Linked DNA regions of Homo sapiens: regions 1, 2, 4, 5, 6 and 7 are each linked to region 3. The links are contacts of gene promoters, found by promoter capture Hi-C in human tissues and cell types (Jung and others, 2019). All regions are on one chromosome and are shown on one strand. Each heading gives the region's core, a stretch centred on a gene start or on the middle of the fragment in contact. The rest is flanking DNA. Distances are from core to core; before and after follow the strand shown.

Region 1 (3,731 bases), core at 1,072-3,571, 510 kb after region 3:
CCAGAACAGTGCCAGGCACATCACAGAAGCCTCACATCCACCTGTGGGCCACACAGGGGCGGAGGTCCCGGCCTCACTGGTCCCTTTGTTTTGGAGCACAGGAGCCTGGAGTGCGCCAAAGGCAGGGCAGAGCCGCGGAGGCCTTTCTGCGGGTCTCTCCAGAGAGTTCTGCAGCATCCTAGGCTGGGAGCAGCCCCTGGGCAACGAGAGCTGCCCTATTAGGAGAGGACCTGAGCTCCTGGTGCATGAGGACCCCAACAAGGCGGCCCCGCCCAGGCATTGCTGGGACCAAAAGGCTCTGGCTGTCCAGAGTTCTCAGCTTCCACCACCAATTCAAAGTCGGCCTCGGGAACCTGCACACCCTCAACACAAGCAGGTGTTCCAATCCTGATTTGACAAAACGCTGCCACGGCCGGGTGTCAGGGGTAGTTCAGAGGTCAGAGCCCCCTGGATGCATCCAGCCATTCCCCATGTTGACCTCCCTGGGCATCCTCGGCCAGCCCTGAAGGAAAGGGCACCTCCCCAGGCTGGGACCTTGGGTCCCATCTGCACTTGACCATGGGGGCATCGGAGCTCGGCTTGTCGTCTGGCTCAGTGAATCTCCAGAAATCATGACAAGCCCCAGCATCCTCCGGCAGCTCCGAGGACATAAATCGTGATTTATTGCTGCTGCGCCACGTCCTTTTGTGTTTCCACACTGCCTTGGGAGCAATTCCTCACTATGTCAACAGCCAGCCCAGGAGGAGGAAGGGGGTGTGAGGAAGAGGGAGACAGGGCAGCGCGTGTGCCCTTCCCCCAGGGACCCTCTCCCCAGCGCGCTGCTGACCACCTCTGGCCAGGAAGCCCTCTGGCCCCCAAGTCCTCAGGAGGGGCTCGAGGACCCTGGTGTGACCTGGCTCCTGGGCCCACGGGAGGAGCCCTGGGTCTTCCACACTTCCTGTCCTCCCTGGCCCAGCCATCCTGGCTTTATTGGAACCAGTTGCAGATGAGTTTCCTTGAAAGGAAAGAGGCTGATGTCATCTGCCTCTGCTCAGCAGAGGAAATCATTATGGGGAGAGCTCGGCATTGGGGAGCCTTGGCCTTGGGCTGAGAGCATTGCCAGTGCCACCTCCCTGAGTCCTCACAACCACCCAGGAGGTCAACTCTATCACGGCTGCCATTGCACAAGAGACAAACTGAGGCACAGAGGGGCTAGGTAGTCTGCTTAGCATCACAGAGCTGGAAAGGCCCCAGTCGGGATTTCAACCCATGCTCTTCGGGCTCTCAGCAGGCCCCAGGTTGGCCCCTTCGAAATCTGGCCCCTTGGTTTCTGGTCCCTCCCCATGTATTGCAAATCCACCAACTCTCTCTCCTCTGGAGCTAGGATTCTGATGAGTGACAGTCCGCACCTTTCCACGTGGCGCAAATCCCCCTAGGGAATAAAGGAACATCAGCCACTGTTTGTGGAGCGCTTGCCATGTGCTGGCGTCGTGTGCTGTCTCCTTTGGTCCTAACAACCATTACCATCTCCACGCACAGATAAATAACACGGTCTGAGAGGTCAGGGGACTTGAGCAGGCAGAAGCACTGCCAGGAGGGCCTAAGCACATGATCACAGCTCCCACAGCCCCAGTTACAAACACTTACAGTTACAAAGCACTTATTCAGATCAGGGGTTGTGTTACGTGACTTACAGGAGTCACTCATCTGATGCTTACCAGTACCCCCTGGGCGTGTTGCAGGAAGCGATTGCTGCGCAACCTCTGAGAGGGTCTGGGACATCGGTGCTGCATCCCCTCCAGGTGCCTAGCTCTGTGCCTGGCATGGAACAGATGCTCAAAGAAGAGGCACGATTCTAACCTGCTCTTTGCCCTTTAGACACGTTCTGTGTCCCATGAACACACCTTAGAAAGATCAGCTTCTCTTGTGAAGCTACAGGAACAGTCAGCACCTCTTTCCAAAGAATAAACTCTCAGCACGTCTTGTCTGATCCTCTGCAACCCAGCAGGGCCTGAGGGTTTTGAGAAATTTGCCCACACTGAAGGCAGGTGAGAAGTGTGAACCATGGGCATGGATTTGTTCGGCAGGACTGGGGAAGCCCCCCACCGGCTAGGATGTTTCTAGACGTGGAGGACACCCCCGTGTGTTGCTTCAGAGACTGACCTTCTCACAAACATCTGTCGATGGAATGTCTGCTCCTGCCTTCTCCCCGAGTCTAACTGCTATTATAGCTAATGTCTAATGATAGCTAATATCGAAGGATAGCTAATGTCTAATACTGGGCCTCTTGCTAGGTGACATTATAGGGCAGTTCCCGCACAGGCTCCCAGCCGAGCTCTCAGGGGCTCATTTCACCCTCACAATCACTCTGTGGTCATCCTGTCATTGCCTCATTTCACAGACAAGGCAGTGAAGGCCATGAGATTCAGGTGCTCGCAGGGACAGAACCTCGTGTTCCTCACCACTAAGCTTTACCTCCCCCCAGCAGCTCAGGGGCAGTGGCTCCCCACCACTGGGCCTGGCGCACAGGAGGCTTTCTCAGCACCACTCTCCCCAGCTGAGCCCCGGCAGCCTTGGATACCACCTGTGTTCATTATGCCCATTACACAGAAGAGGAGACCAAGGCACAGAGAGGTTCCAAGTCCTATCCAAGGTCACACAGCTGGTAAGTGGCAGAAGTGAAAGCAAATGCCTCGATTAGGAACCTGCAGAGACTCTCAGGTCGTTCGTACTCAGTAAATACTTGTCGAGTGAACAACGAATACGTGAATGGAGTATAGCTGTGCTCACCACTGATGCCATCCTTTCATCATTACTAGAGCTGAGGAGGTGTTGGGCCAAGGGGAGGATGGCCCACTGGCATCCTGTGGCACATACTGCAGGCTTGGGGGGGTAGGAGAGGCAACAGCGCTGCCTACTTGGCCATGGGGTCCCTGGGGCAGCATCACCCAGCAGTCATTGCCGTGAGCCTACTGGTCATTGATATAAGCCCAGGTGTCATCACCATGGACTCAGAGGTCATCGCCATGGACCCAGGTGTGTCATCACCACGGACCCAGGGGTCATCGCCATGGACTCAGTGGTCATTACCATGGGCTATGAAGGCCTGGGCTCTCCCCAGCTCTGCCATTTATTGGCTGGTCAACATTGAAAAAGAAACATCTGTGCTTCCATCTCACCATCTGCGAAATGGGGTAATAACCCCCACCCCTACCACACCAGGTGGGGAGAACCGGATGAGGCGGTGACAGGTGGGGAGAATTGGATGAGGCAGTGACAGGTGGGGAGAATTGGATGAGACAGTGACAGGTGGTGAGGACAGGCGCCCCCCAGAGGTTGTCAGTGATGAGGGTGTGGAGGCCTCACAGGCAACTCCAAGGGGAGCTCCTTGACCACGGGGCTTTGTCTGTCTGAGCACACAGCAGGGTGCCTGGCACATAGGAGGCAACTCTGTTAGTGTGGAGAAAGGGAAAATGCATTTACAAGCATAGACTTTACAGCCACTCAGAACCGGGTCCAAATCCTGCCATAAAACTCACTGTGGGTCCCCAAACAAGCAGCCTGGCCTTTCTGATCCTCAGTTCCCCTATCTCTAAAATGGGAATAATAGAATCTACCTCCCCGGATTGTCTTGGAGAATAAATGAGATCAATGCATTTGTGCATAAGTAGCAGTTAGGATTATTATCGCTACTATTATTAATCAGAGTCCCTTTGAGAACTCATGAAAAACACCCCATGTCTTTTATCTGC
Region 2 (4,112 bases), core at 437-2,936, 480 kb after region 3:
GAGCCTGGGCTTCTTCCAGATGGGGCCTTGCTGTCCAGGGGATGTCAGAGTCTTCAGACAGGAGAGGGGAAAAGACAGAGAGTTGTGGTGAATACAACACACTTCCTTGGTGAGCAGCAGCAACCACCTTCTTCTCACCCATTCTCTCAGCAAGAACCAGTGGCCTGTTCCCACCCAGATGCAAAGACACCTGGGAAACACAGCTCCTGGCCAGACAGCCACCCACTAAGGACAGCTCCGCACATGCACACAGGTGCCCACGGCCAGCTGGCCATAGGTGCAGGATAAACCTTTGCTTGGTTCATTCATCAGTGCACCAACTAATGGAAGACCAAGCCAGCCACTCGGAAGAGACTTCTTAGGCGGCTGTTGAAATGTTGAGCTGAATCAGAAACCCGCATGATTAAACCGTGCGAGATAAGGATCTGGGGGAGAGTTCTCTGCTGACATATCCCCCTTTCGTGACCACTCTCCTCCCCACATGTCACCACCAGACGGATCACCCAGCCGGGGGCCTCAGAGGAGTCCCAAAGGCCAGCACCCTCAGCCTCTGCCTCTCCCAGATGGAGAAACAGGCCCAGGGTGGGATCACAAGGCAAATTCGTGGAGGAGGAGCCAGGCCCGGCTGCCTGACCCCAGGCCATCTCTGGGGCCAGGGACAGGCCGGGCCCTCATTGTTCAGCTAATGACTGCAACCCCAGGCCTGTGGAGCGTCTGTGTGGGGCCGCTGTATAAACATTTCCTCTCTGGCAGAGCAGGAAATGAAGGGATGAGGAGGTCAAGTGACTTCACTGGGGCTACTGCTGCCCTGCCCACCGTCCCCGCCCATGCCTGCCCACCACCCTTCCCAAGTCCCCTGAGTCGGGTCAGAACCATAGCCAGGCAGGTGTCCCCAGTCACCTCCAGCACCCCAGGCTTGATTCTTGCTCCGCCACGTCCTGGATGGGTGTTCTTGGGAAAGTTGCTCAGCCTCTCTGAGCATTAGATTCCTCACCCACTGACGCCCTTCCTCCTGGAGTCAGGTAGTAAGGACGAAATGACACTGTGTGGCGAAGCTTCTGGCAGGGGCCTGGCCGATGGTGGCCTCTCAGTGCTTTCCTGCTATTGTAAATTCTCTTTGATAAAAGAGTGTTGACTGGGTTGCACGCTTTAAATGGTTAATTGTATGTTATGTTAATTTCACTCCAGTAAAAGAAAAGATTTGTGTTTTTCTCCACTGTCTGCCCCTCATCCCACTCACACTCACTCACACACTCGCAGACTCACTCGCACACACACTCGCTCACACTTGCATACTCATATACACACACTCGCACATGCTTGCACACTTATACACACTCATCCTTGCACACACTTATACACACCTACACACACTTGCACACTCATACACTCATACACACTCACTCACTCACATAAGCACTAGCAGATCCACTGTACCCCAGGAGGGACCTACAGACACAGGGTGGACGCCGAGATAATTCCCCAAACTCTCTCCCTGGAACCCCACTGACCTTTTCAAGGGGCTGTCAGAGGAGAAATGAACTCACTGGATTAAGGCAGAGAACAGGACTCAGGTGGAAGAGGCCAGGCTGGGGGCATTCTGATAAGTGGGGAAGAGGAGAGACATCAGCCCCTAGGACCACACCCAGACCTGTGGGGCCGCATGTCAGGGAACCCTGGACAGTCCTGGGCAAGCAGGGGCAGCCAGGGTGGGAGGGGGGCTCTCGAGTGAGAGGAGAGAGTCCACCCTTGTCTGTTATCACATTGAAAACTCACACCTCTGCAAAGGTGGACTATGTCCTCAGCCTGTAGCTGGGTAAACTGAGGCTCAGAGACACAAACTGACCTCAGATCACATGTCCAGTTAGTGGTAGCGCCAAGAATCAGCCTCAGTTCCGCTCCACACCCAGAGATAAAGGTGAACTGCAGATCCGCCTAGGTCCACGATATCCGACATAATTAAGCTTTCAGAGGCTTGTACTGCCCGAGGCACCCAGGCTAGGAGCCTTCCCCTCTCCTTTGACTCTGGACTTTTGTGCTAAAAGGAACTTCAAGAGGAGTTAATATGGCATCCCATTTAACGGAAGAGTAAACGGACCAGAGAGGTTAAGTGATTTGCCCAAGGTCTCACAGCTAATTAGGACCAGACCAGACCCACAGCACAGGCTTCCTGCGTGCCCCCCTTCCCCGCCCTCCGCAAGCGGGGTGACTCCCAGGCTCACTGCAGGTGTCTCCAGGGCAGGTCTGCTCCCACAGATTCCGTGACCATGACACCTGCAGGCATTGCTGGGCTGCACCTGATCCATCAGACCTTCAAACACCTGTAGAAACCGAGGTCCATTCCTGAGCTCATCAAAAATCTAACCCACGCCCCCCGCAAGTCCTTCAAAATTCTGGAAAGAGAGAAGGTTTTTTGAAACCTAGAAGGAAACAATTGCCCAATTGCCTGTGCATCAAATCAAGTGATTTTTTCCCCCACTCACACGGACTGTGGGATTTTTTTTTTTTTTTTTTTTTTTTGAATCTCCCATCAATTTCAGAATTTCAAAGAGGAAAAAAAAAGTGAGCCCTTCTGGGCAGAGCAATTCCAAGCGGCTGGGAATCAGCTGCCCTCTGCTGGACAAACGAGGATGTGGCCAAGTTGATGGTTCTTGCTCACGGGCGACTTAAAGAAATATCTGAGCCCCTTGGCGATCCCCAATATTATTTCAGATCCAGTTCAGATCCAGCGTGATAGGATTTGTGCTTTTTATAGCAGCTGGATTTGTATTTTCTGAAAAACTAACAGCTACCCAGAACCCAGAACTGCTTTTAAACTATAATCGCGCCTTTATTGGGCCACTGCTGTCTGCTGAGCCCTGTTCTAGGCACGGGGTATGCAGCTGTGGCCTGGACGGAGTAAACCCCGCCCCGTGGAGGCTGCCTGTTCTAGTTGGGGCCACAGACGATCAGCAAATTAACAAAGCAATTAACAAAAAAGCCAGGTGGTTGTAAATGCTGCGAAAAATAAATCTCTGAGGCAGGTACGGAGTGGTCGGGGTGATGGCTGATGCTGTGTGGTGGGGGCAGGGGGGCAGGCAGGCAACTCTGAGCCAAGATCTGAATGCAGGGAGAGCGGGAGTCACCTGGCGGTCTGGGGGAAGAGTGCTCCTGGCAGAGGAAACAGCCGGTGCAAACGCTTGGAGGATGGGGTGTTTTTGACTGGTTGAAAGGAGTGTAAGAGAGGGCCAACATGTCTGGGACAGAGGGACAGAGGGGAAGCGGGGAGAGAGATGGTCAGGGGCCATCTCAACAGCCCCCGTGGACATTTAAATCAGAGTTAGGTCCCAGTAAATATTGGAGAGAATCACTCCATCTCCGGGTGATGCTCTGGCTTTTGTGAATTGAGGGACTCCTTGAGGATGGGACCACAGTGGGAGGCTAGGGTGGGGCAAGAATACAAACAGGAATCCCAGAGCTTCCGGGAACCAGGAGGACCTGGGAGATCATCTAGTGAAGTCCAGCTTCCCCAGCTTTAATCATAGCAGTGGCGACAGCAGGTCTGACTGGGGAGCCCTGACCAGCCGAGCAGCCCTTTGTGCTGGGTTGAATGGTGTCCCTCCAAATGTGTGTCCATCTGGAACATCAGAATGCAGCCTTTTGGGGAGCTAGGGCCACGACTGCGGATGTAATTAGTTAAGAGGAGGTCATAGTGGAGGAGGCTGGGCCCTAAATCTGAGACTGGTGTCCTTACAGGAAGTCCATAGAGAAACACATACACACACAGAGAAGGCGAGGTAACGGCGGAAGCAGAGGCTGGGCAGTGCTGTCACCAGCTAAGGAGCACTGAGGAAGCCATCAGGCACCTGGAGCTGGAAGAGGGAGGAAGGAGCCGCCCCCAGGGCCTTCGGAGCAAGCACCACCCAGCAGACACCTGGTTTTCAGACGTCCGGCCTCCAGGCCTGTGAAATAATAAATTCTTGCTGTTTTAAGCACCAAGTTTAGGGTCATTTGTTACAAGGGCCACAGGACACTCGCATGCATGACCGCACCCACGCAGCAGCCCCCACAGTGAGAACTCTCTCTCCTCCCATTTCACAGATGAGGCTAATGAACTGGTCAAGGCCCCTGAG
Region 3 (4,145 bases), core at 472-2,971:
CTGCCTCACCCCCTCAAGGAGCTGGGGGTAAATGCTCTGAGGCACTTCTAACTTGAAAACATGGAACTGAAGAGAATGCCCTTCCTAGCACCACCTGCTTTCTAAAATTGCCACTGGCAGATTGTCCCTGGCGTCTCGTTACCATCTGGGGGCCGTGCCAGGCTGACCATCGGAGAGACTTGGGCTCTGTTTTGAGCACAGCTGGGTAACAGAATCCTGCACACACTTCCACTACTGGCACCAAGTCTACTTGCATAAAACACTCTGCAGATCTACTGTGCTTCCATGAAAGGCGGAAAGGACATCCAACCTCTGTGAGAGATTTTATTTTATCACCTCCAAAATGATGTTTGCACTGCTTTTGCCAGCCTGGTGAAAGACAGGCCCGCCCACAAGCAGAACTGAGGCTCCTCGGTGTCTCTATGTATTAATGTTGCGGACACCACATAGGAAGAGAGAGTTGTGATGGGACCCACAGGAGTTGCAATTAAGCACGTTGTCAGGGCTACACGCTCTGCCCTTTCTCTGCTGGGAGACTCAGGCCAAGCTTCTTTAACATGTCTGAGCCTCTGTTGCCTCCTGCGTAGGAGGCGGGTCACATTTGCCTCTGAGGGTTTGCTGTGAAACATAGTTAGCTATGACTTTTAAGGCGCTAAGCTCAATGCCTGGCATATCGTAGCACTGTTAATTACCATTATTAATTATGTCCTAAGGAGGTCAAACGGCACATTATGAGTTACCAGCAGACATGAGTAAGTCGCTTGTACACGGAACACCATTTTCTGTATCTGTTAAGTAGGCGGGCATTCAAACTCTTTTGTCTGTTTCCCAAGTGTGTTGTGAGGATCTCATAAAGTTTTGGGCATGCAATTTCGAAAGGTGGCAGCCACGTTTTGAGTGCTTGTGATGTACCAGGCACGTGGCTACGGGGATGCCTTCATTCGCTCAGGGAGTGGTTCCTAGTGGCTGGTCCCTGACATCTGTGTGTGTGCTGGGTGGGGGTGTGGGATGTCTTCTTCCTAATAAGTGAATGAACTGCCAGGCTGAACGCCCTCGTTTTCTTCCCGCGGGGCTGGGGCCAGAGAGGGAATGGACGTGACGGTCTGTGCAGCCTGGTCTCCTCGAGCCGCTTCTCGACCCTTAGGTTAGCAAACATGAAAGACATAGACAAGCAGACGCAGGCTGCCACGTTCGTTCTTTCTCAGGGTATGCAGAGGTCAGGGTAAGAATCCACGGGTGTTTCTCAAAGGATGGCCTCTGGCCGTCCGCAGCGCAGTCGCCGGGGCTGGGCTGGCCTCGAATTTCCATCTGCCTGCCGCTTTAAAGAGCTGCCGGCTGAATCCGCTGCACACCCACGTGTGAGCACCTGAGAGTCTGCAGGATCTCAGAGGAGGGAACCGCGTCCTACATGAGGAGCAATCAAGGCCGGCTTTCCGGAGGAGGCGGCCTCTAGGACTGGAAGAGGAGGCGGGATGTGTTTCAACCGGCAATGGGTCCCGAGAGACCAGGGACTTGTTCACTTCAGTAACTCCAGGGCTTGGCAAAACGCCTGTCACGGGCGGCGCTCGACAATGACTAGCTGAAAGCAAGAGCGAAGGGCCTGGGAGCATCCCTGACTGTCCCCGGCGCGGATTTTACCCGCCCGAGCATGCGCGCCTGGGCCTCGCCCGCTCAGCCTCCGCCCCTCCTACCATCGCGCAGGCGCGGAGCGGGTGACGTCACTACGCGCCAGAACCTGCGCCGGGAAGCGTCGCACAGCGACTGCATCACCATGGAGCCGAGGGCAGGTGGGGGGCCTGGCGGGGCTCCGGGGCGGCTGGGAATGGGGAGGGACAGCCGGGACCGGTGAGGGTCGAGGCGGGGCCACCGGGGCTGGCAGAGGATGGGGCAGAATCACCGGAAGCGGCCGAGGAGGTCAGAGGGGGTCTGTGCTGGGTTCGGGTCGAACCAGCGGCTCTCTCGCCCGGAATCCCGAGAAAGATGTCAGGAAAAATAAAGATAACGAGAAGACGAGGCGGGAGGGACACCTGCCGTGCACGTGGGGGAGCCCGTGGGCCCCTTGAGGTCGGGGAAACTGAGGCTCAGGAACAGGATCGGAAGCCGGTTTGACCTACACGCGGGGGTCGCTTAACTACTGTTAAGCGGTTTCAGCATGGGCTCTGGAATTCCTTTGTATGTTATTAAGTGGGAATCTTTTGTTGCAGTAGGTGTCTCCAAACAGGACATACGTGAACAAATTTGGGGCTACATGGAATCACAAAATTTAGCTGACTTTCCCCGACCTGTTCATCACAGGATACCCAACTTTAAGGTACTGACATATTTCTGGAGTCCAGAAAAGGAAAACAAAATATTCTTAAATGAATAACACTAGTAATAAAATTCTCTTACTGCGTCATGGTGGATGAGAATGTGGCGAGCAGTGAGCAGTGGTGTGAAATCAAAGCCATTTGGCCAGGGCGTCCTTAGCATTTAGAGACGTCATTTACTCTTCACCTGGGGCCTCTTGCGTCTCTGTGCAGGGTGGTTTGGTTGTCTCTAGGTGAGGTTGTGTCCAGAATTGGTGGGTTCTTGGTCTCACTGACTTCAAGAATGAAGCCTCGCAGTGAGTGTTACAGTTTTTAAAGGCAGCGTGTCTGGAGTTTGTTCCTTCTGATGTTTGGATGTGTTCAGAGTTTCTTCCTTCTGGTGGGTTCACGGTCTTTGCTGGCTTCAGGAGTGAAGCTGCAGACCTTAGCAGAGAGTGTTGCAGCTCACAAAGGCAGGGTGGACTCAAAGAATGAGCAGCAGCAAGATTTATTGCAAAGAACAAACCTTCCACAATGTGGAAGGGGATTGGAGAGGGTTGTTGCTGCTGGTTCAGGCAGCCTGCTTTTAATCTCTTATCTGGCCCCACCCACATCCTGCTGATTGGTCCATTTTACAGAGAGCCGATTGGTCCGTTTTGACAGGATGCTGATTGGTGCGTTTACAATCCCTGAGCTAGACACAAAAGTTCTCCACCTCCCCACTAGATTAGCTACATACAGAGTGCCCATTGGTGCATTCACAAACTCTGAGCTAGACACAGGGTGCTGATTGGTGTGTTTACAATCCCTTAGCTAGACATAAAGATTCTCCAAGTCCCCACCAGCCTCAGGAGCCCAGCTGACTTCACCCAGCAGATCCCGCACTGGGGCTGCAGGTGGAGCTGCCTGCCAGTCCCGTGCAGTGCACCCGCACTCCTCAGCCGTTGGGCAGTGGATGGCACCAGGCACCGTGGAGCAGGAGCGTCGCTCCTCGGGGAGGCTCTAGCTGCACAGGAGCCCGCCGGTGGGGGTGGGGAGGCTCAGGCATGGCAGGCTGCAGGTCTTGGGGAGGCAGCTAAGGCCCGGCGAGAAATAGAGCACAGCAGCTGGTGGCCCAGGTGCTAAGCCCCTCACTGCCCAGGGCCAGCCGCTGTGAGTGCGGGGCTCCCCACGCCTACATGGAACTCGCGCTGGCCCACAAGCACCATGCACAGCAGCAGTTCCCGCCCGCGCCTCTCCCTCCACACCGCCCAGCAAGCTGAGGGAGCCGGCCTGGGCCAGTCCAGAAAGGGGCTCCCACAGTGCAGCTGCGGGATGAAGGGCTCCTCAAGCACGGCCAGAGTAGGCGCCAAGGCCGAGGAGGCGCCGAGAGGGACCGAGGGCTGCCAGCACGCTGTCACCTTTCAAGGTGGTGCTAGTTGCTGTTTTCTGTTTGATACAAAGTAAAATATTTATCCTGGCCGGAAGCATGTTATTGTCGTAATGGCTTTTCACAAAATTGACCCTGCTAAGAGCGTTAGGGAATGAAGGGGTACTGAACTGGAAGTTCAGGCTCTAGGCCTTTGGAAAGAAATGAATGCCTTGCCAGCCTAAGGATGCTGGGCCTCAGTTTCCCAGCTGATCAAAATGTAAGACAATCAAAGATGGCTGTTCCTAACAGTGTTGACAGAAAAAAAAAAGGTTACTCGGAAGAGGCAATGCAGCAGTTCATCATCTTTGACATGCCTATTTTCCAAGAGCAAAAGAAAGCGCTTTTCAAAAATGCTCTCTGCCCTGAAGGACTTAGCTGTTGGCTTGCTTCACCCCATTTTGTCAGGACTGCCTCTCCCCAAGCCTGGCTTCTCCACAACAAGCTCC
Region 4 (4,050 bases), core at 215-2,714, 440 kb before region 3:
GATTTTGTGGGCGGCAGGAGCTGCAAAGTACTTAAAAGGTGCAAGGGCAGATTAATGGAGTCCATATGCCTGGATTCTAAGGGTCTCTGTGCTGGGTGGGCTTATCAAGTCTCTTGTCATAACAAAGGGTGGGACAGTTCAAAGGACTGGCTCTCTCAGACGCTGGGCTCTCACGGGGGCTCCTCTCCAAACCCCGCTGTACAAATATTGTCATCTTGCTCTTGCCTGGAGCCCTTGCCTCTGGCTTTATTATTTTTTTTCTCCTTTTTACCCTTTGACAGTGCAGTAGGGCACTTTGTGAGAAATCTTCCTGTAGAAGGACTGACTTATCACTCCACTTGGGAGTGAAACGACCTCTGGTGATCCCTACCTGGGCTCGTGGGGCTGCAGGGAGGAGCAGCCCAGGGCACTGGTCCAGCGTCCAGCGTGACTGCTTAGAGCTCACAGCCTGCACCGCGGGAGGCACCTCCCTCATCTACACAGTCCCGGTGGGGAGGATGATGAAGCCATTGTTGGAGCATGTCTGCTGGGGCGGAGCAGCAGGCTGGACCCTGTCAGCGGGGTCATTATCTGCCCACTGGCTCGAGTGACAATGAGTTATCATCATCGGCTGTTCTGTGGGAGACACATCAGGCCATTTCTTGCAGATTCTTGGGAGTGGGACATGATTTGTCCAGATTGGATGTCTACAAGTGCCTGGAAGATGAGATAATCTCCAGCTCTCTGCACACAGACTGAGCTTCTCCTGGCCAATGACTCAGCTGTGGTCTGGACTGGGGGGTAAATGTTTCCTGGTTTTGACAATGCGTTTAAGTTACAGGCTTAACTTCCAGGCTGGGTAAACGAGCCTTTAAAGAACTCCCAGGGATCCAATATTTAACCAGAAATTAACTAGCATTTCCAGAACACCCCCTGGCCACAAGGCTTTTTACAGAGATAGGAGATAATACTTAATAATAGTGTTCCCTATTTGTATTTGATTTGGATAAAGGGTCCTGTGTTCTGAATTGTCCACTTCCTCCAGGAAGCCTTCTTGGAGTATACCAACCTCCGAGTCAACTCTTCTCTCCCTCTTGCTCAACATCCAACAGTTGCCCAATCCTGTTGGTTCTTTCTCCATCACTCATTTTGGGTGGGTGGGAAGTTGCGTGTTTCAGAGGTAAAACCACACTTCTCTGAGCCTTAGTTTCCAAATTTGTAAAATCAAAGAAGTGATAAAAGTCTTTGCAGGGAGGCTTAGTAGATTAAGATGAAGCCGAATTGTGGGGTAGATTCTGGCCCCGTGGGAGCTCGGCAAGGCGTGGTTTCTGCCGTCCGCTGCTCTGCTGCCACTTCTCTGTGGAGCGGTGTTCATCTGGACACTTAGGTTTCCTTCCTGGGTCTAGACGAGCTTTCATGATCGTCTTTTGTCCCACACGTGGCTTTCGTTCCCCCACCATCCTTCTAATCCACCCCTGCTCTTATCTTGGGCTCCCCAAAGGCAGCCGGCAACTTGCCCGTGGAGCAGTGGTGGGTTCCTTGGGAGGTTGTCCAGGGCGCATGGGTTCAGTGGCAAGTCAGGAGGAGCAGGCTGTGCGATTGACGTCGCTGCTGGGGCACGGGGTGCAGTCCCACCGTGACCTCCTAAGACGTGCACAGAACACCTCCTAGAATTGTCTGCCCAAAAGGAGTACTTATCTATGGATCTCGTCCCTTCATGGGTCAAGCGCTGACTCCCCACTTCCCTGCGGTGATGTGGAAGGCCCGAGGGGCTTCCTCAGCCTCACGGCACTGGAGAAGTTCTGGGAAGGACTGGAGACCAGCGGCCTGTGCTTGTGGCACAATGAGCCAGCACGGAGGGGCTGGAGCCTGCATGGACTGGTCCGCCTGGCTGCGGCGAGGCCAGCTGAGGTGGGTGGTGGGGGGTAGGGGGTGGATGTGAGCTGGCAGCGGCTGTCCTGTCTGTCTCCTTGCTGCTGATGAATCTCCCCGCCTCACAGGCCTGTCTCCTGCCATCTTCCCGCTTATAAATCCTTCTGCTCATCAATGTTTCCCCAAGTATGTCAAAAAAGAGCTCCTGCTCCAACAGGGCTGAGAAATGCTGCATTAAGCAAATCTAGTTGGATTCCTTACTGCAGGACTTCTCAGAGGCTTGACTCTGTTAACATCATATTAAGAAGGAAGTGGGGGGTGTAGCTTTTTCTAAATGTCTTCATGATGAAGCTCTTACCTTCTAGGTGTGTATTACGAGACTCAGGTTTCCTGGAGAAACGCTAGTATGTAGAAATGCATCCAAACTCCTTTATCTGAAATGTGAGGCCCTTCATGATCTTGGGGCCAGTGGTGTTTTCTAGCCTTATTTTCTCCCATTTCTCTTCCCACATCCTCAACTCTGACAAACTCATCACGCCCCTTAATTTCTGGCCTCTGGATCTTTGCTCATGCTGTTCCTTCCAGCTGGAATGACATTCACTCTCCTGGGTCATGCTCTCTTTCAAGTCTTTGCTCGATTGGTGCAACTTCTCCAGGGCTGGCTCTGAAATCGGGCAAGCCCTGAGGCCCACCACCCAGCCTCTGTTACAGTTTTTTACACATAGATCTCATCTGCCCTACTAAACCATGAGCTCTGCAAGGGAAGAGTCATGTGTGATTCACCACTTAGCCAAGTCTTTCTGTAGCAGTGAGGCTCTGCTATGCTATGCCGCCCTAACAAACAGCCCCCAAATCGCAGTAGGTAACACAACAGAAATCCAACTCTCACTCATGCCAAGCCCACTGCAGTTTCAGGCAGCCCACCAGGGCAACTGTCCTCGGCATGGTGACTCAGTGGTCCAGGCTGATTCCCTCTCATTGCTCTGTCTTCCCAACATGACGCTTTCACACTTGCCAGAGAGGGGAGAAAGCACACAAACTTGAGAGTAAGACAGTCCTGCACGCTCTTTTATGGCTGAGTCTGGGGATGGCCCAGGTACGTTACCGTGCTGACAGCCCACCCCGAGCCACTCATGGGAGACTCTCTCTAGTGACGGGAGAGCTGAAAAGCACAGTCTTCCTTGTGGCCAGGGCAGAGGGAACCTTGCATTTGTGCTCATTGGCAATGTCTAGCATGCCCATTTCCCTTTTCGTCGCGTGCACACCCCACTCTGGCAAAACCTTCATGCCCTGCACTAGAAGGAGCCCTCAACACATTTACTCAGTGGTGGATAAATGCAAGGTGACCCCTCCTGTCTTTGGAATTCAGAGCACTTGCAGCCTGAACCATTCATTGGGCATTTGAACAAATGTTGTCTTGCAATGATATATGTGGTTCAAATCTACAACCAGAATGTGTCCCAGGTGATGCTCCATGAAAAGATCTTCCCTTGCCCCATCACTTGGGGAAATCCAGCCTCCTCTATCTGTTTCTTAGAGATTCGCGGTGCACATAAGCACAAGCATATTCAAGGCTCTAAAAAGTCCTGCAGTCAAAATCAATAGCAAAACCTGTTTACATTTCTTTAACCCTGCATTCCCCAAATCTCTCCCCACGTTAGGAGGTTGTAATGCAGACTAATTGCAAGTATGTTTACAGTGAGCACGGTGCCTGGTGACTAACAAGTGTGCAGTAAATGACAGCTGGTGTGATTCACTCTCTCTGCACCTCAGCTTTCCCATCTATAAAGCAGGGGAGTTAGGTGGATACACCCTGTGATTCTTCACATCCGATATCTATAGCGAATCTCTTGGTGTTTTCACATCTTAGGGCTTGAGTCAATGTGGGGGCATGGGTGTCTTCCTCAAATGCCTGTATTCCCCTTTCTTGTGAAGCCAGGGCTGGAAGATTAAGTTTGAGCCCGACCCATCATTTTGGTCATAGACTGACTCGCCGTGTGTCTTGCATAAAATACTTTTCTTCCTGTGTCTCATTTTTTTTCTTGTATCTAAAGTAATGGGCTTCATTAAATTATCTCCAATGTTTTTTCTGTTCCTAAAATTTAGGATATCATGATTTTCCTAACTTTTTTCAGCGATGCCTAACCAGTTGATTTCTAGGTCATTAGAAAAATGCCGTATTCCCATTCAAGAGCCTCC
Region 5 (3,875 bases), core at 1,286-3,785, 420 kb before region 3:
CGCCCCCGATCCCCAGCTGACCTCCCCCTCTCATCCTGGGCTGACCACCTCCCCCTTCCCGGGCTGACCGACCCCCACCATTCTGGGCTGACCATGTCCGCATCCCAGCTGACCATCCTCTAACTTCTAACACCAGGGCCAAGGTGAGCTCTGCCCTCAAGCAGTCTGTGGGAGGCTCTCACAGCTGGTGCTCGGGCTGGGCCGTGCCTACTCGCACTGCTGCAAGCGTCCTCTGCATTGCTGTGTGTAGCAGCATCTCATTCGTTCCCACTGTGGGGTCTCTTATTGTACAGCTGCACACAGTTGGCCCCTTCATGTCCTGGGGATGGGCGCGGGGTGGTTTCCGGTCTGGGTGCCCCAGGGATGGGCGTGGGGTGGTTTCCAGTCTGGGTGCCAATACACGATGCTGTCTAGGCATTCTGACACCTGTTTCGGTGGACACCCACCTTCAGGTCAGTGGGGGTGCAGGTAGGGGTGGAGGTGCCAGGCCACAGAGCACACGGATGCCCTGCTTTACTAGAACGTGTTGCCTTCAATGTTCTCGGCATCCCTGAGATGCGATTCAGATTATTACTGGGTTTTTACAAACGAGGAGCCTGAGGCTCAGACGGGTGAAATGATTTGCCCAAGTCCACTCTCAGAAGTTGAGGAGTTGGGTTTGAGCACAGGAAGTCTGATTCCAGATGCAGACAGTGAACTTTCCACCACCTCGCTACCCTGGGACAGACACTTTGGCCCCAGTTAAAGGTGAGGCCCGGGTCACTCCTGCTCTGACAGCCTTGATCTGTGTCTTAAAGTCACATCTTCCTCTCACGAAGGGGGTCAGTCTCTGAGGACACAGTCCTTTTGTAGGAGAAAAAAAAAATACTTTTAGCACAACCGTGATCAAATCTAGGCTGAGCAACTTAGTAGCTGTGTGACCCTGGGCAACTTAATGCAAGGAGATAACTGCAGATAAACCACACACTGCAAAGCTGAATGCAGGGACACCTTCTAATAGTCTAGTCAAATCCCCACATGAAGAAAACTTTGCTTATAATTAAGGAAAAGTTCCTGAACTGTGGGAAGCAAGAAAACATTTGTCATCCCTTTTCTTTGTATGTACTTGGGAAGATTGTTCCTGTAAGAGCTGGAGATGAACACTGTATTTCTTGCCAACCCTATTATTCTGGGGTGGGGCATGTGACTGCAACCCACCATTCCCTGTAGGACACTGGGCATGTGATCCCCCAGGGATCAGAGCAGATCAGTCTCTTGCCCTGAATGAAAAATCAGTCCAAAGATTATTCTCTCCCTCTCTTTTTTGCTTATGTGCAATATCTCTATCATTTCAGATTGGAAGTTACCAAAGTGTTTTGTATGGGTTGTGAGGAGGTGAGAAGAAAAAATAAAAAAGCCATGGACATTTGGGGACTGTGGGCTCACATGGACTTTAACGGCTTTCTTTGCTGCAGAGCTTTTCAGAACCTTTAATAAACTAATCCACATTGACATGTGGCGGATATCACAGGCAGCATTTACTAATTCAAGCAGGGGATTCTGTTTTCCATTCTGTTTGTGGAGTGTATTAGTTAGGATACAAGTCTGGCATCTTGACAAAGACTCAGGTTAACAGTGGCTTGAACCAGACAGACAGTTCTCTCTTTCTCACAGAAGCATCTGGATGCCAGTGGTCCAGGGCTGATGGGGTCTTCTCTACCTGGTGACTCACAGACCTAGGCTCCTGCATCTCCCCGGTGTTAGCCTTGTTGATGTGGGTGATGATGATGACTCATCATCACCACATTTGTGCTCCTGCCAGCAGGAAAGGGCTAAGGGTGGTGGGACCAAGCCAGCTTTCTTGGCCTCCCGTCCATTCACACCCCACAGCCCTTGCCTTTTAAGGATATTTCCCAGGAGTTGGACCCATCACTTCCCATTGGCCAGAATCCAATCACATGACACACCCAGCTGCAAAGGATGCTGGGGGATGTAGTTTTTTCTGGACAGTCATGTGCCCAGCTAAAGTCAAGTGCTCTAACACTGACCACAGCAGGGGAAACAGACTTTAGAGGAAAACTAGCAATCTCTGCTCTATGGGGTTGGTGGGTCATGGAACACAGTTTAGGAAATGGTGTTCTGAGTGTATATAAACCAGATACGCGAAGGACATTGGTGGGAATAGAGGTGCCAAGCATCACTTGCTGAGAATTGGAAAGCCCACTTAGGACACAAGGTTCTTTAAGATGTGTCAGAAATGCATAATTGTACTCTCAAAGGAAGTGAAGATCAGTGGTTGCCCAGGGCTGAGAGTGGGGTGGGCAGTGTGACTGCTAACGGGCATGAAGTTTATTTTATTGTGATGGAAATGTTCTAAAACTAGACCGTGGCACTGGCTGTGCAACTCTGTAAGTATACTAACATTCATTGAATTGTATGCTTCAAATGAGTACATTTTATGCTGTTTAATTATATCTCAATACATCTGTTAAAAACAAAAAAAATTAAAAAGGAGTTGTTTACAATTATAATAAATCTAAAGGACAGATCTTATAGACGAATTTTAAAAATGTATGCATCTAATTGGGTACATTTGAAGCATCTTGACAATCTACCAATTTCACTGTGTTTAGAACAACCACTCCCTGCCTTATCGCCAGCAAAATGACTTGTCTCCAGAGCAGGGGTCAGCACCCTTTCTCTGTAAACAGCCCAATAGCAAATATTTTCAGCTGTGGAGTCATAGGGTCTCTGTTGGGACTATTCAATTCTGCTGTTTTAAGCAGCCACAGACAACAAGCGAGCCTGGCTGTGTGCAGACAAAAATGTATTCTGGATGCTGAAATTTAAATTTCATGTACTCTACACACGTCATGAAATAAAATTCCTGTTTTGATTTTATTGCAATAATTTAGATCTGTGAAAAACGTTCTTAGCTTGTGTGCGGTGCCAAAGCAGTTTTGCAGACACTGCTCTGTGGGTGTGCCCGCACATGGGGGTGCTCTGCCTTCTTTTCTCCCAAAGTGCAGCTAGGAAAACACTCATCAAAGGAGCCAAACCTGTACCAAGTTGACTTTCTGTATCCTTTGTCTGGGCTGCACCAGAAGCTCTGTCAGCAGTTGGGGCTGGGCTCAGCTGGCTGACTCTTCAGCTCTGTGTGGGGTCAACTGGGATCACTCAGTGATGTCAAGCTGATGGCTGGGCTGGGTTGGAGAGTCTGGGGCAGTATCTCTCACAAGTCGGGAGTCCTGGCCTCAGCTGGCCTCCGCCTCCACATAGTCTCAATGTCTCTCCAGCTGCCAGCTGGACTTGTTAATGGCAGCCAAGGGATTTAATAAGTGTTTAGTGAGGCCTGTGGGGAAGCCTCAAGCCTTAGGACTAGCCTCAGAGCCTGCAGCCTCCTGCTGGCCAAGCAAGTCTCTCTGGCCAACCCACACTCAAGGGGAGGGAAATTAGGCTTTGCTTCTAAATGGGATGGGAACGTGTAGCCACCTTAGGAACCCTTCCAGAAAGCTATTCGCTGCTGTAGCTTTTTAAGTGTCTGTGCTGATGCTGCTCTGAAGTGAGGATGGCAGGCTGGGTTTCCAAGACAACCAACCTGTCCTTAAACCCCTGACTGTAAGAGCAGGAGGAAGCTTTGGGCTCACACGTGAAGTCCAGCCTGCTTGTGCCTAGAATGCTGATAGGCTGGGACCCTATCATGCTGGGTGGTATGATGGTCTTCCCAGTTGCTGATGGCTTCACTTAGTTTCCTGTAGCCCTGAAGTGAATCTGTAGGATTCTCTCCAAACACCTAGAGGCACCTGCCTGTTTGGGATCAGGCCTGGTTCTCCACCCTTCTGCTGCTTCTCTGTCGGAGAAGTGTCCCATCCCCATTCTAAAAAATTTAGAGTCAA
Region 6 (3,683 bases), core at 602-3,101, 490 kb before region 3:
GAGAACACAGGGAGAAGATGGCTGCCTACAAGCCAGGGAGGGAAGCCTCGGGAGGAACCAGCCCTGCTGGCACCTGATCCTAGATGTTCAGCCTTGAGAATGATAAGAAAGTGCATATCTGGGGTTTGAGCTGCCTGGTCTCACGACGTGGTTATGGCAGCCCGGGAAAATCAGTTCACCCAGCTCTGCCTGCATGCAGAGAGCCACGTGTGCTTTAGAGTAAGGGCTGACAACGACGTGGTTCACGGGCTGTACCAGGGCCCAGCGAGGTGTGTGTGTGACACGCAGCTTCTCACACCAAAGCGGTAGCATTCCCATTTCACAGATGGGGAAACTGAGGCCTGGGGAGGTCAAGCAAGTATTCCAGGGTCATGTAGCTGGAATCTGTGGACACAGCAGGTGTTCTCAAACCTGGCTTCACAGTGCAGTGGCATGGGAAGCCTTAACAGGCACTGACTCCTGGGCTCCAGCCCACACTAAGGGAATCAAATTCTGGGCAGCAGTTTTCAGGGCGCCCCAGGCGATTCTCAGGTATAGCCAGGTGCATAGCTACTGCCTTGTACCTCATTCGTCTGGCTGGCCTTAAAAAACAAATAAAGTACGTTAGCAGTGCCTTCCGTCCCATGCGGCAGCTCCCGTCTCCATTTCCCCTGGCAAAGTGGGTTCACTGTGTCCCTCACACTCATGGTGGGGCAGCTTGTGTTTCTGAGACCATTAGCACGGGCTCTGGAGCCCAAATGGCTGGGTTTGAATCCAGTCTTTGCTACTCATTTGCTGTGTGACCTTGGGCAAGTGGCTTGGTCTCTCTGGGCTTCAATTTCCTCATCTGTAAAATGTGATAAGAGTACGTACCTTGTAAGGTTGTGATTCACCAAGTTAGCCTTTGTAAAGTGCTTAGAGCAAGGCCTAGCATGTGGAGAGTGCTGGAAAAATGTTTGTTACAAACAAGACAACTGTCTCCTGTGCGTACCCTGGATGATGAGAAGCTGGGGAGATGGGTAGGAGATGGGAGACAGAAGCCAAGCCTGAGTCCACGCCGTGTTCCCTGGGGACCCGCGGCATCCGACACAGGGGAGGCCTCAGGAAACTTTAGCGTCGAGGAACAGGTGTCGTTTGTGCAAGGTATTCGGCACCACCTCCCCGCACCATGCACACCCCGTCCCTGTGGGAGGGATGGCGAAAGCAGCCCCTTCTGTTCCTGTGGAGGTCGTAGAGGGAGGCGCACTGAACCTGTGATGACACCAGCGTGGGTTTCTCCTCCAGGAGGGAGGCTTGACACCGAGAACCGGGAGGTTCCCTGCCTGTGAGTGCTGGCGGCAGGATGTGGATAAGCCTGTTCTTTTGTACTTGGTATATTCTCCTCCTCTTCCTGCATGAATGAATGCATATCCCTTTCGTTATAACAACGTAGTTTTGGGTGGGGGCTTTTTGGTAAAAAAAAAAAAAAAAAAAAAAAAAAAGGATAATACAGAAGTTGACTGAGTTACTTCAGGCAGATTTTTCTCTGGGGCATGTTTTAGCATTTCCTTGACATCCTCTGCAGGCTGCTCCAGGCCTAGGCCCCATCCTCACCTCTCAGAGCACACACCTGCCTGTGTTCTGGCTTGTGGTTCAGGAGCGGACAGCCATGTGTCACCTGGCTGTGGGTCTCCAGGAGCCATTGCAGGGGACCGGCCACACGGCCATATTCCAGAGGCCCTGAGCCCGGAGGCACTGACTGCATGGAATCATGGATCTCTGGGCTTGTGGGGCCTCGGGGACCTTGTGCAGAAAGCACTTCTTCTGGGGGGTTGGGCGGGCAGGAACACATGGCTTCCTTACGTGAGCCACAGTTCGGGTCCAACTGGGAGGGGCTCCCAGAAGAGGCTTGGGGACAAGAACAGGAGGGACCCTGGACCCTCTGCACTGTGAGCTCCCTCAGCAGGTCTGTGGCCCGTGGAGACGGCCCAGGTTTCCCCATTCGCTGGCCAGAAAGTGCAGAAAGGGAACTGCCGGAACCCCAAGTGTGCCAGCTCCAGAGCTGCGTTCAGTCCCAGCCTGCCTCCTCAGCTGACTCAGTTCTGCCCCGTCTCCTCTTCTGTGAAATGGGAATAAGAGCAAAACCTGCCTTAGAAAGAAAAAGGCTGCTGGGCGGATTAAGCAAATTAAAACAGGGGATGGTGCCTGCCACTTAGTCAGGCATCTCTGGTGTCAGCCCCTGGTACGATCTTCATTTGCTTTGTTTGTTTGTTTTTTGAGACAGTCTCTCTCTCTCTCTCTCTGTCACCCAGGCTGGGGTGCAGTGGTATGATCTCTGCTCACTTCAACCTCTATCTCCTGGATTCAAGTGATTCTCCTGTCTCAGCCTCCCGAGTAGCTGGGATTATAGGCACACACCACCACGCCCAGCTGATTTTTTGTATTTTTAGTAGAAACGGGGTTGCCCAGGCTGGTCTCGAACTCCTGGGCCCTAGAGATCCACCTGCCTTGGCCTCCCAAAGTGCTAGGATTACAAGCATGAGCCACTGCACCTGGCCTAAGATCTTCATTTGCTTTCTTGTGACGGCTCTGAGTCGTGTCCACGTGCAGGGGACCTGGAGACTCAGGAGGGTGATACATTTACTCAGCTCTTCAGCCAGAGGGGTCAGCCCTGGAGTAGGTGCTGGCACCTAACAGGAAACGAGCTGACATTCCACCTTGGGACACATAACATCTTTCGAGGGAGGCAGCCGTCAGTCAAACGATCACAGGAAGGGATTATAAAAAAATTCTGAGGTGGCCAGGTGGGGTGGCCGAGTGACTGAGCTGGGGTCTGAGGGCAGTGAAGGAGTTAGCTAGGAGATAGGAGAGGAAGTGTCCTGGCAGAGGGAACAGCCTCTGTGAAGAGCTTGTTCCCCTTCAGAGGAACAGAAGGAAGCCCTCTGTAGCCGGCACGTGGAGAGGGAGGCTGACACGGCTGATTGTTTTCCACCCTCGTTTCCCCCTCCCTTCCACAGTGAGAGTGTTTAACTAGGCAAGCTACAGAACACGGAATGCTTTTCCCAGGCTTTTTGACGGCTGATGTGTGTGTAACAGGCTGCGTGTGTCTTGAAGTAAGAGAAGCCTTCTTGCAGTAGCTGGGTGGAGACACGGTACCGAATCGCTATTGTGTGGGTGGACACAACCATTAACAAGAGAGGAAAATCCTGGTGATTTCAGAGAGCACAGCTCAGACCCTTATGTGAAAAAAACAAATTCCACCAGCACTTTGTTGGAGCCGCTGCTCCCGTGGTGCCTGTGGGTGCAGCTGAATCCTGGCTGTAACGCAGTGCACTTGGATGCTGGGGCTGGAGGCGGTGGGCAGGAATCTCCGCTGCACCAGCTCTTGGCATGATCTGGGCTCCAACCCTACTCCCTGGTGCCAAACAACATGCTCTGAGGTTGTTTTATCACTTAGTTCAGCCCAGTCTGGCTTCAGTTATGCTGGGCAAATGCTCTCGTCTGATAACCTTCTAGGTCACAATATGAACTGTGATATTTTTCCAAAAAGCCATGGGAAGCCCGGGCGAGGTTTGTGGGACTAACCAGTCACAGGGCCCGTCTGTGACAGCACCAGGGCTCAGAGGCACGTTCATGGCCCTGGTCTTTTTACAGAGTTCATGTCGATGTGAGGAATGGTGTGGTTTGGGGAAGCTCGTGGTTTGGGGAAGCTCGTGGTTTGGGGA
Region 7 (3,677 bases), core at 389-2,888, 340 kb before region 3:
ACAGCTCCAGCCTGAATATGGGAGAATTCCAGTGTGGTCCAGCTTATAATGTAGTCAATGATGCCCCAAGGGAAAAAGGAAGGGAAAGAAGTAGTGACCGCTTGACTTTCATTTTTCTTTCCTGTGGGGTCTACAGGACCTCCATTCTGATACGGTTTTGGGGCTGGGGTGGCTGACAAGGGGCACAGTTGTTCCCTAATCGATGCCAACAACAACCTGTAGAAGATCCCCCATGCCACCAGCTTCTTGTAGCGGGTGGGACTGGCCCCTGTTATGCACATCTGAGAACCCTTTCTAGAGCTGATATTCACGTCCGGGGCCACTAACAAATGACCACATAACGAATGACCGCAAACGGTGGGGCTTACAGCAGCAGAATCGGGAGTCTGCCATCGAGATGCGGGCAGGGCTGTGCTCCCTCTGAGGGCTCCAGGGCAGGACGCTTCCTGCCTCTTCCAGCTTCCAGTGTCCCTGGCTCTTCTTGGGATTCCTTGACTCCGAGGTGCATTACTGCGGCCTCTGCCGTCTTCACTGTGTGTGTGTCTGTGTCCAAATTTCCCTCTTCCTATGAAGGCACCAGTCCCGTTGGATTAGGTCCACTCTCACCCCATATGAGCACATCTTGACCCAATTATATCTGCAAAGACACTGCTGCCAGATAAGGTCTCCCTCACATGTGCCCAGGGTTAGGACTTGAGCATAACTATGCGGGTGACACAATTCAACCCGGTACAGAGCTGTTTACCACAAGGGCCCTTTTCACATTGATTTCACATTGTCTCAGTTTTTCCATCTGTGAAATGGGGATAATAGTCACATCTTCCTGACTGGGCTAATGTGGGGACTGAATTGGCTCAGAGACGTTGCGTGCTTAGAGCTGTGTTGGACAGGCAGCAAGCACGACGTCAGAGGGCTCTGCTCTTGATCTCATCATCAGCTGCAGGCTTTGGACAGCACAGAGGGAGAGGGTCGGGGGTGGACGCAGGCCCTACTCCATCAGAATAAGATCCATACCTGTAGTGTGACCTTCCAGGCCGGCACCACGTAGCTCCCGGACCTCACCCTGCACCCTCTAGCTGTACCTCATGGTGCCTGGCACGCGGGCCTCTGGTCCTCATCGTGTGGCGGGGTGGTGGCTGCTGCCTGGAACCGTTGTCCTGAGTTCTTGGAGCCCATCAGGGTGGGCTTCCCTGTCCTGGCTTTGCTCCCCTGTGCCTCTTGCCCTGGCTGCTGCTGCTGCCGGCTGTTCCCTTCAGCACATGCGCAGTCGGTGCCTTTGCGCAGGGCGGAGTTTGCTTGTGCTCTGATCTGAATGCGTCTAGACTGTGAGTCCCACGAGGACAGGAGCTGCGTCTGATTTGTTCTTCTCTGCATGCCCTGGCAGTCGGGAGCTCGAAGTAGTCTTGGTACCCGTGCCTATGAATGAGATTGGACTGCTCGGTGAATCACCTGAAACCCTTTCACCGATGGGCGCTGTGTTACAGGGGCAGCCTCCATCCTGGGGGCAGCCCATGAGAGGGGCAGATGGGCAGGGAGGCTTGGCATGGCTCCCCTGGCTGTATTTTTCCCTGTTTTATTTGCTTTTATTAAATTTTTTATTTTCAAAAATGTGAACTTGTAGAAAAATGGTCAAATATTACAATGGCCTGCTATATTCCTTTGGCTGATCTCACCTGTCGCTGGCATTACTCCTGTCGCTGAACTCCCCTGCAGCTGGGCTCACCTGCGGCTGGGCTCACCTGTGGCTGGCATTACTCCTGTTGCTGACCTCCCCTGCAGCTGGGCTCACCTGCGGCTGGGCTCACCTGCGGCTGGCATTACTCCTGTGGCTGGGCTCACCTGTGGCTGACATTTACTGCACTTGCTCTTTGCTCCTTCTCTGTCACCATCAGCATCGTCATTGTCGTTGTTTGTTTATTTTTGGTGAACTCTTTGACGGAACCTGTGGAGGGTGTGTCCCTCGGCTGTGAACACATCTGTGTTCTCCTGAGGACAAGGACGTTCTCCTACATAGCCACAGCACCAGGGTGCTCTTAGCTGGTCTTCCTATTCAAACATCACCATTTGTCCCGATGCTGTGCTTTGGGGCAACTTTTGCCTTCCCATCCAGGCTTCAACCTGGAAGCACACCTTGCATTTGGCTATCTCCTTTGTCTTCTTTAATCTGGAACATTCCTCCATCTTTCTTTGTCTTTACTTCATTGGCATTTTGGAAGAGTGTATGGACTTGCATTTTGCAGTTTCACGTCTATGTGAGTTTGTTTGATTGGATTCAACTAAGGTTTTGTATTTTTGGAAACCTGGTGTTTTTAAAAATGGGGGAATTATGTATTAGGTAAAATATTTTCATCTTTTACAAATTCATAAACTTGGCAACATTGAGCCCCAATTCCCACTTGGCATGTTATCCACAATGTCCCCCTCCCAGCCCCCTGACCCAGGGCTATGAGTGTGTGAGCCCTGATGTCATGGTGGGAGGGAGCCCTGGAGGGGGACAGGAGGCTGGTGCCTGGGCGGGGCCCCCTCTTAACTCACCAGGTGGCTCTGGGCATGCCCCTCACTTCTGTGGGCCTCAGAGAACAGTAACAGAGAAAAAGTTTGATGAGAGTACATCTCTCCAGTGGCAGAGCCCAGAAAATATGATCCTTTCGCTCAAAATCCATGGAAGTCTATAAATAGATGCTCCCACTGCCAGAGAGAGGGGTGTTGCGAAGAAAGATGACACCCATGAGCATGAGCAGCTGGGAGGTTGTGAGGATTTGTGCAATCACAGGAGGCATGGGTGATAACATGATAATGCCGAGAAGTGGCTCTGTCACTCATCCAGGGAGGGCTTATCAGCCACGCTGATCTTTCTCAAGAAGTCGGAGACTGACAGCTTCCTGAAATGAGAGTATCAGTCCCAAAGACAAGGAAGGTTGTGCACATGCGGGTCATGGAGGGTCTTGGCTAGGACAAGCCCCACCCCAACCATGCTTTGCTACAACCTACCTACCCACAGTCAGAGCTGAAACTTCCGAAGTTTAGATGTGGTCAGGCTCTGTGCTGAGCAATCAGCTGGTGTGATGTTCATCCATTTTGAATAAATACATGAATGATTGCATACGTGTAAAGCAGCTGGTTTCTTAACTAACTCTTTGGCTTACTCTCCAAATAAATGTTTCTTAACCTTCTTAAACAGATATCCCCTTTGAGAAACGCAGAAATACATCCCATATTATATGTGATTTATACATCCACTCCCCCAAAGGGCTATGGAGAATATGTCCTCACTAACCATTGTGATCCCACCTAAAAATCTCCACCTGCCAAAAACACTATGTTACTCTGTGTTTTCAAGTTATACAGAGAAAAGTTATTTTCCCTTACATTATATAATATCATAAAATGGAATGTTTGAAACTTTTTAGACTTTAAATCTAACTGGATTGCTGTCCGTCCTACATCTCCACTCTAGTGGTTCAAATTGCCCGCCCTGAAGGTGGGGGAGTGCATGGTCCCTTCCCAGCGAGCACCTCACGCCTAAAGCTTTAGGATGGGGAACCCACCCATGGCCTCCTGAAGCATTAGGATGGGGGAACCCGCTCATGGCCTCCTAAAGCTTTAGGATGGGGGAACCCGCCCATAGCCTCCTAAAGCATTAGGATGGGGAACCCGCCCACGGCCTCCTAAAGCAT

What was found. The method cuts DNA at HindIII sites, captures the fragments that hold promoters and counts their contacts. A contact is called where the count stands out against the background at its distance.
Region 1: a contact is called between a fragment that was not itself captured here and the fragment with the promoter of MTHFSD in region 3, in 2 of the 25 tissues and cell types used here (lymphoblastoid cells and mesendoderm cells).
Region 2: a fragment that was not itself captured here is called in contact with the fragment with the promoter of MTHFSD in region 3 in 5 of the 25 tissues and cell types used here (IMR-90 fibroblasts, dorsolateral prefrontal cortex, lymphoblastoid cells and 2 more).
Region 4: a contact is called between a fragment that was not itself captured here and the fragment with the promoter of MTHFSD in region 3, in 2 of the 25 tissues and cell types used here (IMR-90 fibroblasts and mesendoderm cells).
Region 5: a fragment that was not itself captured here is called in contact with the fragment with the promoter of MTHFSD in region 3 in 2 of the 25 tissues and cell types used here (IMR-90 fibroblasts and lymphoblastoid cells).
Region 6: a contact is called between a fragment that was not itself captured here and the fragment with the promoter of MTHFSD in region 3, in 3 of the 25 tissues and cell types used here (IMR-90 fibroblasts, aorta and lymphoblastoid cells).
Region 7: a fragment that was not itself captured here is called in contact with the fragment with the promoter of MTHFSD in region 3 in 4 of the 25 tissues and cell types used here (H1 embryonic stem cells, IMR-90 fibroblasts, mesenchymal stem cells and 1 more).

The regions. Positions count from the first base shown.
Region 1 is chr16:86,048,664-86,052,394 of GRCh38, reverse strand. LOC105371389 (a long non-coding RNA gene) reads left to right here and starts at 3,058. Exons shown (of 2, transcript XR_933854.3): 1 at 3,058-3,201. LOC105376778 (a long non-coding RNA gene) reads right to left here and starts at 2,940. Exons shown (of 2, transcript XR_933855.2): 1 at 2,770-2,940. RefSeq lists enhancers at 743-1,377, 3,468-3,731. The HindIII fragment of the contact is 4,718 bases long and covers 1-3,731 here.
Region 2 is chr16:86,071,513-86,075,624 of GRCh38, reverse strand. No RefSeq gene overlaps it. Among named protein-coding and RNA genes, the nearest start is that of LINC01082, 120 kb to the left of the region's middle. RefSeq lists an enhancer at 481-1,249. The HindIII fragment of the contact is 3,693 bases long and covers 1-3,532 here.
Region 3 is chr16:86,552,811-86,556,955 of GRCh38, reverse strand. MTHFSD (methenyltetrahydrofolate synthetase domain containing) reads left to right here and starts at 1,721. Exons shown (of 8, transcript NM_001159377.2): 1 at 1,721-1,787; 2 at 2,205-2,311. The coding sequence starts at 1,772. It overlaps FLJ30679 (a long non-coding RNA gene), which reads right to left and starts at 1,636. Exons shown (of 1, transcript NR_026674.1): 1 at 1-1,636. RefSeq lists enhancers at 1,439-1,728, 1,769-1,818, 2,787-3,449, 3,450-4,114 and a silencer at 1,651-1,864. The HindIII fragment of the contact is 6,717 bases long and covers 1-4,145 here.
Region 4 is chr16:86,991,433-86,995,482 of GRCh38, reverse strand. No RefSeq gene overlaps it. Among named protein-coding and RNA genes, the nearest start is that of LINC02181, 64 kb to the left of the region's middle. The HindIII fragment of the contact is 6,483 bases long and covers 1-4,050 here.
Region 5 is chr16:86,973,618-86,977,492 of GRCh38, reverse strand. No RefSeq gene overlaps it. Among named protein-coding and RNA genes, the nearest start is that of LINC02181, 82 kb to the left of the region's middle. The HindIII fragment of the contact is 4,609 bases long and covers 231-3,875 here.
Region 6 is chr16:87,043,119-87,046,801 of GRCh38, reverse strand. No RefSeq gene overlaps it. Among named protein-coding and RNA genes, the nearest start is that of LINC02181, 13 kb to the left of the region's middle. The HindIII fragment of the contact is 6,740 bases long and covers 1-3,683 here.
Region 7 is chr16:86,891,834-86,895,510 of GRCh38, reverse strand. No RefSeq gene overlaps it. Among named protein-coding and RNA genes, the nearest start is that of LINC02181, 160 kb to the left of the region's middle. RefSeq lists an enhancer at 1-160. The HindIII fragment of the contact is 7,684 bases long and covers 1-3,677 here.